2 separate regions of the Homo sapiens genome follow, and region 1 is linked to region 2. Evidence: promoter capture Hi-C in 16 types of primary human blood cells and fetal thymus (Javierre and others, 2016). All regions are on one chromosome and are shown on one strand. The core of a region is centred on a gene start or on the middle of the fragment in contact, and the rest is flanking DNA. Distances in the headings are between cores, read along the strand shown. Region 1 has its middle 3.1 kb from the start of TRIM68. Region 2 holds the start of RRM1 (ribonucleotide reductase catalytic subunit M1).

The links. Contacts are between HindIII fragments. The CHiCAGO score rates a contact against its expected background, and 5 or more counts as called.
Region 1: a fragment that was not itself captured here is called in contact with the fragment with the promoter of RRM1 in region 2 in 1 of 17 cell types (naive CD8 T cells); the score reaches 5.6 in naive CD8 T cells.

The regions. Positions count from the first base shown.
Region 1 is chr11:4,609,250-4,613,401 of GRCh38, forward strand. No RefSeq gene overlaps it. Among named protein-coding and RNA genes, the nearest start is that of TRIM68, 3.1 kb to the left of the region's middle. The HindIII fragment of the contact is 4,051 bases long and covers 403-4,152 here.
Region 2 is chr11:4,093,268-4,097,605 of GRCh38, forward strand. RRM1 (ribonucleotide reductase catalytic subunit M1) reads left to right here and starts at 1,532. Exons shown (of 19, transcript NM_001033.5): 1 at 1,532-1,764. The coding sequence starts at 1,746. RefSeq lists enhancers at 1,162-1,231, 1,292-1,761. The HindIII fragment of the contact is 7,950 bases long and covers 827-4,338 here.

The DNA of each region.
Region 1 (4,152 bases), core at 1,178-3,677, 520 kb after region 2:
TATCTTAGGTCTGAGCTGTACCCTCTGTCTCACCCAGTTTTGGAGAAATGGCTGCTCTAATAGAATAATGAATGGATTAATTGAAATAAGCCATTTTAAACATTTATTTAACATCAATTTTCTTGACAATATTTTACTGGGTGCTGGGATTACAACTATGGGACATATAGTCTCTGCCTTTAAGGAGCTGAAGGTCAAGTTGGTTGTACTGCTCTGGAATCTCTGTGAAGTTAAAACAGTTAATGGGGAGATCATTTTCATGTGTAAGGTGCAATTTGTAACTATGACGGACTGTCAAGAACCCTGGCAATCAGGGTAGCTGGGGGTGGGGGCTTGCGTTCATGTGGGGAAGGCTGGAGAGAGGGCTTTTGAAGACAGACCAGTTTACTTCCAAGGCATAGAAGCTTTCCTTTACAGATGTCTTCAGAATGTTTTGTTTGTTTCTTTATTTGTTTGCTGTGAGACAGGTGTGTCCAGGTGAGGCTCTGTCGTGGACAAATTCCACAGCTGTAGCTGCAGACCCCAACCCTCTGCCCTGAATCCAGGATAGACCAGGACAACAAGATGAGTGGCTAACTGTAGGATGGTGTCCATCTGTGCTCTAGGGGAGGAGTAGCATCAAAGGAGAAGCAAGAACTGAGAACTGTTTGGGGCACTGAAGAAGTAGGACTAAGGAAGAGTTAGGGGGTTAGTACAAATCTGAGGCCTGGTTTTCTGGAAAGAGACCAGAGACTGACCTTATTGCATGTCATACAACATGCTTGCTTAGAGACCCCTAATTTATTTTCTTCTCTTACTCTTTCTGAGGAAGCATGAGCCACACCCTCAGTTAGTTTTGTATAATCTTAGGCTTGATGAGAATATAATCTTAGTCTTGAAGGCTTTAAAGGGGAAGAAATAGCTGTCTGTGTTAGTGGTGTGTCAGTCAGCAGGAGAACCTGCTAGGGGTGGAAGGAGGAGGGTAGGAGTATAGCCTAGACCATGAGTAGATACCCCGCTCCACCTTGAAAGTCTCCTACTGGACCTCTTATGATGGAGTTAATACCTCCTGTTTCCTCTATTCCAGATTGTTTTCAGTTTCCAGAAGGCAAAACTGACATCTCCCAGGAGTCCAAGTAGGAGATTAGGGCCTCCCGTCCCTATCTACTCAGTGCTAGCCTTGGCTAAGAGAGAGGAAATTCCTGCCTAGAGGGGAAAATCTGCAGGACTTCGTTACCACTTTCACTTTGGCAGAGGAAGGAGGTCAGGGATGGAAGGGGAAGTGAGTCTAGAAATTAAAACATAGAATTCTGTCTACAGGTGGTGGAGAGCCTTTCTGAAAGTGCTTCTGGGTTGAGGCTGTCACCTAGATTTTATATTAGAGTTTAAGTGTTCCAAAAAATTAAGAAGCAGGAAGTAGAAAAGAGAGAACAATTTCAGAAGCAGACGAAAGGAACAGTAATAGGAAGATCTAGCAAGGATGTGGTGGGGCAGTTTCAGTGTGAGATGCCATGGACAGGAAAATGGCAGCATATGTGTGTGTGTGTGTGTGTGTGTGTGTGCATGAGACAGAGAGACATAAATAACTAAATAAAAAGGTATATATCAGAATATAGATGTATATTACAATAGCAATTGTTAATAGTGACACACAACTAACAGTAAGACTTTTGTACAGTGGGAAGCAGAACAAGCCAAATGCTGTTATTAGTTTTGATATCAGAGTTGCATTAGATTAAAACAAGAAGAAGTAGCTTTATATGTCCTTGTATTTGATGTCTAATTCAAGTTCTTTAAATGTCGAATCTGTTTCAGTAAGTTACTATTCTCAAAGTATCAGTGTCTCCATGGTTATGAACAATTACACAAATAATTATTTTTATTTTTATTTGCCATTACTTTGAGTTTTTTTCTTGATTCTAATCCCTGATATTATATATTTACCACTACTTTATGTTTTTTTTTCTGAGTGACATATCTTTCTTTCCAAAGATCTGTCTAATTGATTGTTCCTTTCAAAGAACCTGTTAATTTGTTATTTCAATTTTTTTCTGATTTTATCTTTATTATTTTTTCTTGATTTATTTTACTTATATTTATTGTCTTATTTTTCTTGCTTCTTGCATTGATTGAGGAGTGTAAAGTTTTCCCTAAATATAAGTCAGGCTATATACCATAAATCATCTTGGTGCTTTCGTTATCATTTGTTATTAAAAAAATTATTAAGCACAGTTTCAAATTTGCTTTTCTCTTGAAATTACTTAATTAAATTGAAATTCTCTCTCTATATATATAATTTATTTAGGTTTGTTAGCATTTTATAACCACAATGCAATAAGAGTTTAAAAAATGCCATTATAACTTATCATTTGGGAAACTGTTTTGTGGCCAACTATATAATTGCATTATATAATTGTTCAGAAGGTACTGGAAGAGAAGGCATATTCTCTATAGTGGAAAATACTAAATTATATAGTCTTCTTATCAGAGTGTAAAATGTGTTTGTAGGGATTTGGCCTAACTCATTGCCACGTGAATAGCAGACAACTGAGAGAAGAGCCAGTCAATCAAAATGCCTACTAAAAACAAGAGTTGAAAATGCCAGAAACCTATTTTAAGCATAAAAAGGACTTATTAAAGAACATTTGGTAGTCCATTGATGATGTATGCAGGAACATCATCAAATTACCCCATAGGTCCACTCTGATGGAACTACCACTACTGGCTCCATTGAGCATAGTCAACTAGGATCTCACTCCTAAACCTGGGTGCAGAGACTGACACTAGAATCTCTGCCTCTGATATCTCTGGAAGATTTACTCTTCTGTCAGCACTCTTCACCAGAATGATTCAATGTGGCATTTTGCTTTTATTTTCCTAGCTTCTGAATTGGCTTCCTGGAGGTGTGCATGATTGACAGCACTTAGACAAAATGCCTTCTCCCATGGTGGGTGATTATTCCCATCTATTTTCTCCCTTTTTGTGAGGGGGACATACAATCTCATCCATTGCCTCATGACTCACAGTGCTTCCCGATAGCTGGAGAATGCTTTCTAGGACATTATGAGACTTGGCTATATGACCATCTTGGGTCGTTGAAATAGGAATGGAGGGAAGTGTTTCAGTTCCATAGAGAAGCTCTAAGAGACATTTCATGTTTGTACCACCTTTTGTTGTTTTCTCATTGTCACAATAAAGGCATATCACAAAGAGGGGCTCCTGCTTCAGCTTGAGTCCTGGATGCAAAGACATGTGGACTGGGATCCTAGCAACCTATCTGCAGCCAAGGACATGACGTGTGAGTGAAAACATTTGTTGTATGCCCCTGAGATTTTGGATTTTCTGTCATGGTATGAAAGCTGATTAATTAGGTAGGAAGGTGACTTCTATGGCTTTTCTTTGGGAGAAGTAGACGCCCCAAGAAAAGGAAAATTGGTCAAACATAGGAAGAGCACTCAAGTGCCAGCTACAGTGAATGACAAATACCCACCACAAGCACAAGCTCTACATTCACAAAAACTTGGAAAACACAAGTAAGTCCTCAGAACAAAACATGGCTACCACATAGTATAATAGCTCATTCCCTAGTCAAAGAGAAATTTAGATCCACATTGCCATCACTGGCCACAGTCCTTAAAGAGAATTATAATGCTCTCTGGGGAGAGACCAGAAAGGAAACACAAGGGGAAAAAACAGGATTGATGGTTTCAGGTTTTCAGAACTGTTTTATTTGTCAGTTGGTGTCTATCGTTTGGTGTCTAGAGCCCGGAAATTAACTCAGGATATACCTAATGTTAAATGACGAGGTGATGGGTGCAGCACACCAATATGGCACATGTATACATATGTAACAAACCTGCACATTGTGCACATGTACCCTAAAACTTAAAGTGTAATAATAATAAAATTAAAAATAAATAAATAAATACATAAAAAGAAGAGTGAAACTATGATTTCCTTACAATGTGAGAAAAAAATCCACCTATTTAAATAATTTTTTATTTGAAGGAAATGGTGTATGAAACACTTCTGTTTTCTCAAATTAAAATTTGCAATATGCCATTCTTCCCTTAAGTATTATGCATATTACAAAACCTCCACACTTCCTTTTCCATCTCCTCTTTGTCCATTTTGTTCCAAGCACCCCAGTGCAGCATTGAGAGTATTCTTTAG
Region 2 (4,338 bases), core at 282-2,781:
ATCTTTCCTTTGCCCAGGGAAAATGAAACTTGAATGCACATGCCCAGAAGCTCTGTGGGCAGGGTTACCAGATAAATGCAGGATGACCAGTTAAATGTGAATTTCAGATAAACAGTTTTTAAAGTATAATTTTCTCTCATGCAGTATCTGGGACACATTTTTATTTGCTAAATTGGGAAACCCTATGTCTGGGTAAACTTGACCCTATCTATCCTATAACTTCACTTACGACTTTTAAAAAACATATCTATTTAATTTTTCTTTCTTTTTTTTTGTTTTTTTTGAGACGGCGTCTCACTCTCTTGCCTAGGCTAGGGTGCAATGGCGCGATCTTGGCTCACTGCAACCTCTGCCTCCAGCGTTCAAGCGATTCTTCTGCCTCAGCCTCCTGAGTAGCTGGGATTACAGGCGCGTGCTACCATGCCTGGCTACTTTTTGTATTTTTAGCAGCGGGGGGGTTTCACCACGTTGGTTAGGCTGGTCTCGAACTCCTGACCTCGTGATCTGCCCGCCTTGGCCTCCCATAGTGCTGGGATTACAGGAGTGAAGCACCGCGCTGGCCTACTTTTTCTATTTTTTGTAGAAATGGGGTCTCACTATGTTGCCCAGGCTTATCTCAACACCTGGCCTCACATGATGCTCCCGCCTTAGCCTCCCAAAATGCTGCAATTACAGGCTCACTTACGACTTTCCATGATTTTTGAAATTACTTCACAGGGAGCCTGGGCAGCTTCTGGAGGGCAGTGAGAAACCAACGAAAAGGCTTTAGGGAAAAGATGCCACAGATGAAATTTCATAAAGATCGCTTTGGGTAGCCCAAATCAGAAGCTTCTACACCAGCCTTACATATTACGGTTCTCATCTATTCTTATTCTCCACTCTAAGTCACCAAGTCCATCCTACCTCCACAAGGCAAATACCCTGTCTCTGCCACCATCCACTGAAGAACCCTAAAAGCAAATGGGTACTGACCCTGCCCTGCTTAAAATTCTCTCAGGGCTCTGATTTGCGTCAGGATAAAATCCAAACGCCATCGGCCTTGCGCGGTTTTCTTCCAGTTCCAGAGTGTCAGTCCTCTGGCCGATCTAAAAGCCCTGGGGCTCCAAGCTGCCCACGGCTGTGGAGCCTGGGCTGGAGCCCACAGCGGACGGCAGTGTTAGTATTATTATAATAAATGTCAGAGCAAGAAAAACGTTCCCGCCGGTTAGGTTTTGTTATTTCAAAAATAAATTAACCGCCTTTCCTCCGGCGGAGACGCGCAGGTGAGAGGGCGGCGCCTGACCCAGCGGGCTCTAGGTGCTACGCCAGGGCCCCGAGGGTCCCGAACTCGGCTTGCCCACACAAAACATGGTAGCAGGAGAGCAGCATTTCCGCCGGGCATGTCCATATCCAATGGGGCCCATGGGAGAGGCGTAGTCTTCTGGGTCTTGCCCAGACTCAACATGGCGGCTACACGTCGCCTGTCAGTCTGTGAAGCCTACCCCGGGCGTGGGCCGCAGCGTCGAGTAACGTCATTCGAACCCCGTCGCGCCCCTTTGTGCGTCACGGGTGGCGGGCGCGGGAAGGGGATTTGGATTGTTGCGCCTCTGCTCTGAAGAAAGTGCTGTCTGGCTCCAACTCCAGTTCTTTCCCCTGAGCAGCGCCTGGAACCTAACCCTTCCCACTCTGTCACCTTCTCGATCCCGCCGGCGCTTTAGAGCCGCAGTCCAGTCTTGGATCCTTCAGAGCCTCAGCCACTAGCTGCGATGCATGTGATCAAGCGAGGTGAGGGGGGGACGAGGTGGGCGAGAAGGAAGGTGAGGGGATGCGGGCTGCCGCCGCCGGAGCTGATGCCCAGACCGCCCGCCCGCCTTCGCTGCTTCCCGCCTTTCCCGCATTTCCCGCCGCGGCCTTCCGCCCTGTCAGCCCGCTCGGCCTTCTGTCTTCAGTCAGCCTGCCCCGAACCTCCTTCGGGCCTTCAGGCTGCGCCCCCTCGGCTTTGTCATCCTGCCGCCTTTCAAAAGGATAACACTTACCCCGTATCGAGTAGTGACTGCGTACGCCGAGCACTTGCCAGGCACTATTTTATTCCTCCCTGCAAGCCTCTGAGAGATGATTAGCTTATTACAGATGAGGAAACTGACGCTCAGAGCGAGGTGTCGCCGACTGACCCAAAGTCACCCATAGGTGACAATACGGTTTGATTTGAAAACCGTGGGGTTGGTGAGCTGTCTTAGGCACAGGGTCGGGGGGCAGCTAGGAAAGAAGGAGGGGGCCTCTCTACCCTCCGTAGGCACTTGTCAGTTTACTGATCTCTTTTGTGGGGTGAGGATAGGAGTGTGGCGTGGAAAAAACAGATCCCAGACAGACAGCACCCTCGAGTTCCTTTCCCTTCATGGGAAGAGATGCTGAATCAGAGAAGGGTGGCTGAGACATCTTCTGACAAGATGGGGACTGGGAAGAGTCAGGAACTCGTATTCTTTCTCAACAGTTCTTTTTCATTAGACTTGCCAAGTGCCCGCTTTGTGCCCAGCCCTTTGCTTGGCTTTGTGAGATTGTAGGAGGAGACAGTCCCTGCCTTGGGAACAGGCTTCATCGGGTTGGAAAAACAAGAGCAACATACTTTTAACAACCGCATGAGATACGTATGAACAAGTTTTGAGTTGAACCTACTTGCCTTTGTTAAAGCAATACAATGATTTCAAAATTGTAGGCACTTAGTAAATACTGGTTAATCGACTGGTTGTTTCTATTTTGTCCTCTAGGCTGTGAACATTTCAAAGATGGAGACTTGTTTGAGACAGAGTCTTGCTCTGTCACCCAGGATGGAATGCAGTGGTGTAATCATAGCTTACTGTAACCTTGAAGTCCTGGGCTCAAGCGATGCTCTTGCCTCAGCCTCTCAAGTAGCTGGGACTATAGGCATGCACCACCATGAGTGGCTAATTTTTAAAAATTTCTGGTAGTAAAGGAGTCTTGCTGTGTTTCCCAGTCTGGCCTTGAATTCCTGGCCTCAAACCATCCTCCCTTCCTTGGCTTCCCAAAGTGCTGGGAATACAAGCAAGATGGAGACTTTTCTGTTCACGTTTAGCACAGGACCTGACATGAACAGATTCTTAAAGAATGAATGAAAATAGTTGTATCAAAATGTAGGACACGATGAATGCTGTGAATAAGCAGGTAGTTGATTTGGTTTAACTACAGCCAATGTCCAGATTGGTTTAACTACAGACAAGAGTTGGAAAGGTGGACAGTAGTGGCCTTTCTTGTTTTTGGTATCTTGAGAACATCATTCTGTGAATTTTCCTAGCTCACATTTTAGCTGACCAAAGAGCAAAATAACATAGTGCACTTTTATTGATCCATTCATAAGAGTGAGAGCTGAGCATCTATTTTTGTATTTTTATTTTTTTACATTATTATTTATTTGTATTTTTTTAGAGAAGGAGTCTCGCTATGTTGCCCAGGCTTGTCTTGAACTCCTGGGCTCAAGCATTCTTCCCACTTCAGCCTCCCAAAGTGCTTGGATTACAGTGCTGGGAGCCACCGCACCTGGCTTGAGCATCTATTTTTTAAATCTTTAGATATGGGAGAGATGTTTAGGATGGTCTATGATAAGTCAGTAACAAAGATGAATTGAAAATGTATGGACTTAGATGACCAGAATGGGTAAAATTCAACCCTGTGTTGAATTTTGAACTTTTAGAGTCTACTTCTAAATACTTTCGTTTAAAAAGTGCTACCTTGGCCTGGCGTGGCAGGGCATGGTGGCTCACGCCTGTAATCCCAGCACTTTGGGAGGCTGAGGTGGGTGGATCATTTGAGGTGTGGAGTTTGAGACCAGCTGGGCCAACATGGTGGAACCCCGTCTCTACTAAAAACACAAAAGTTAGCCGGACGGTAGTGGTTTGCACCTGTAATCCCAGCTACTCAGGAGGCTGAGGCAGGAGAATCGCTTGAGCCTGGGAGGCAGAGGTTGCTGAAATCGTGCCATTGCACTCCAGTCTAGGCGACAGAGTGACACTCTGTCTCAAAAAAAAAAAAAAAAAAAAAAACCACAAAGTGCTAGCTATAACTAGCTCTAAAAAGCAGAGCTTATTTTCTCATTCCTTCATAGAGCACAATTTGATCCAGATGGTTCATGCTGTAGATTCTGCCATTGTAGCATTCAGCAAGACTTAATATACAACATGTACTTAGATTTGTTTGTTTCTTTTTTTTTTTATATTTCTATGTTTCTATATTTTAATGTTTTTTAATATGCATAGGGTTTTTGGTTTTCTGGACTTTTTTTGTACCCCCTTATTTTTGGCATGTCAGTGGAATAGCAGACTAACTCCTACAGTTTTTGTTAATTTT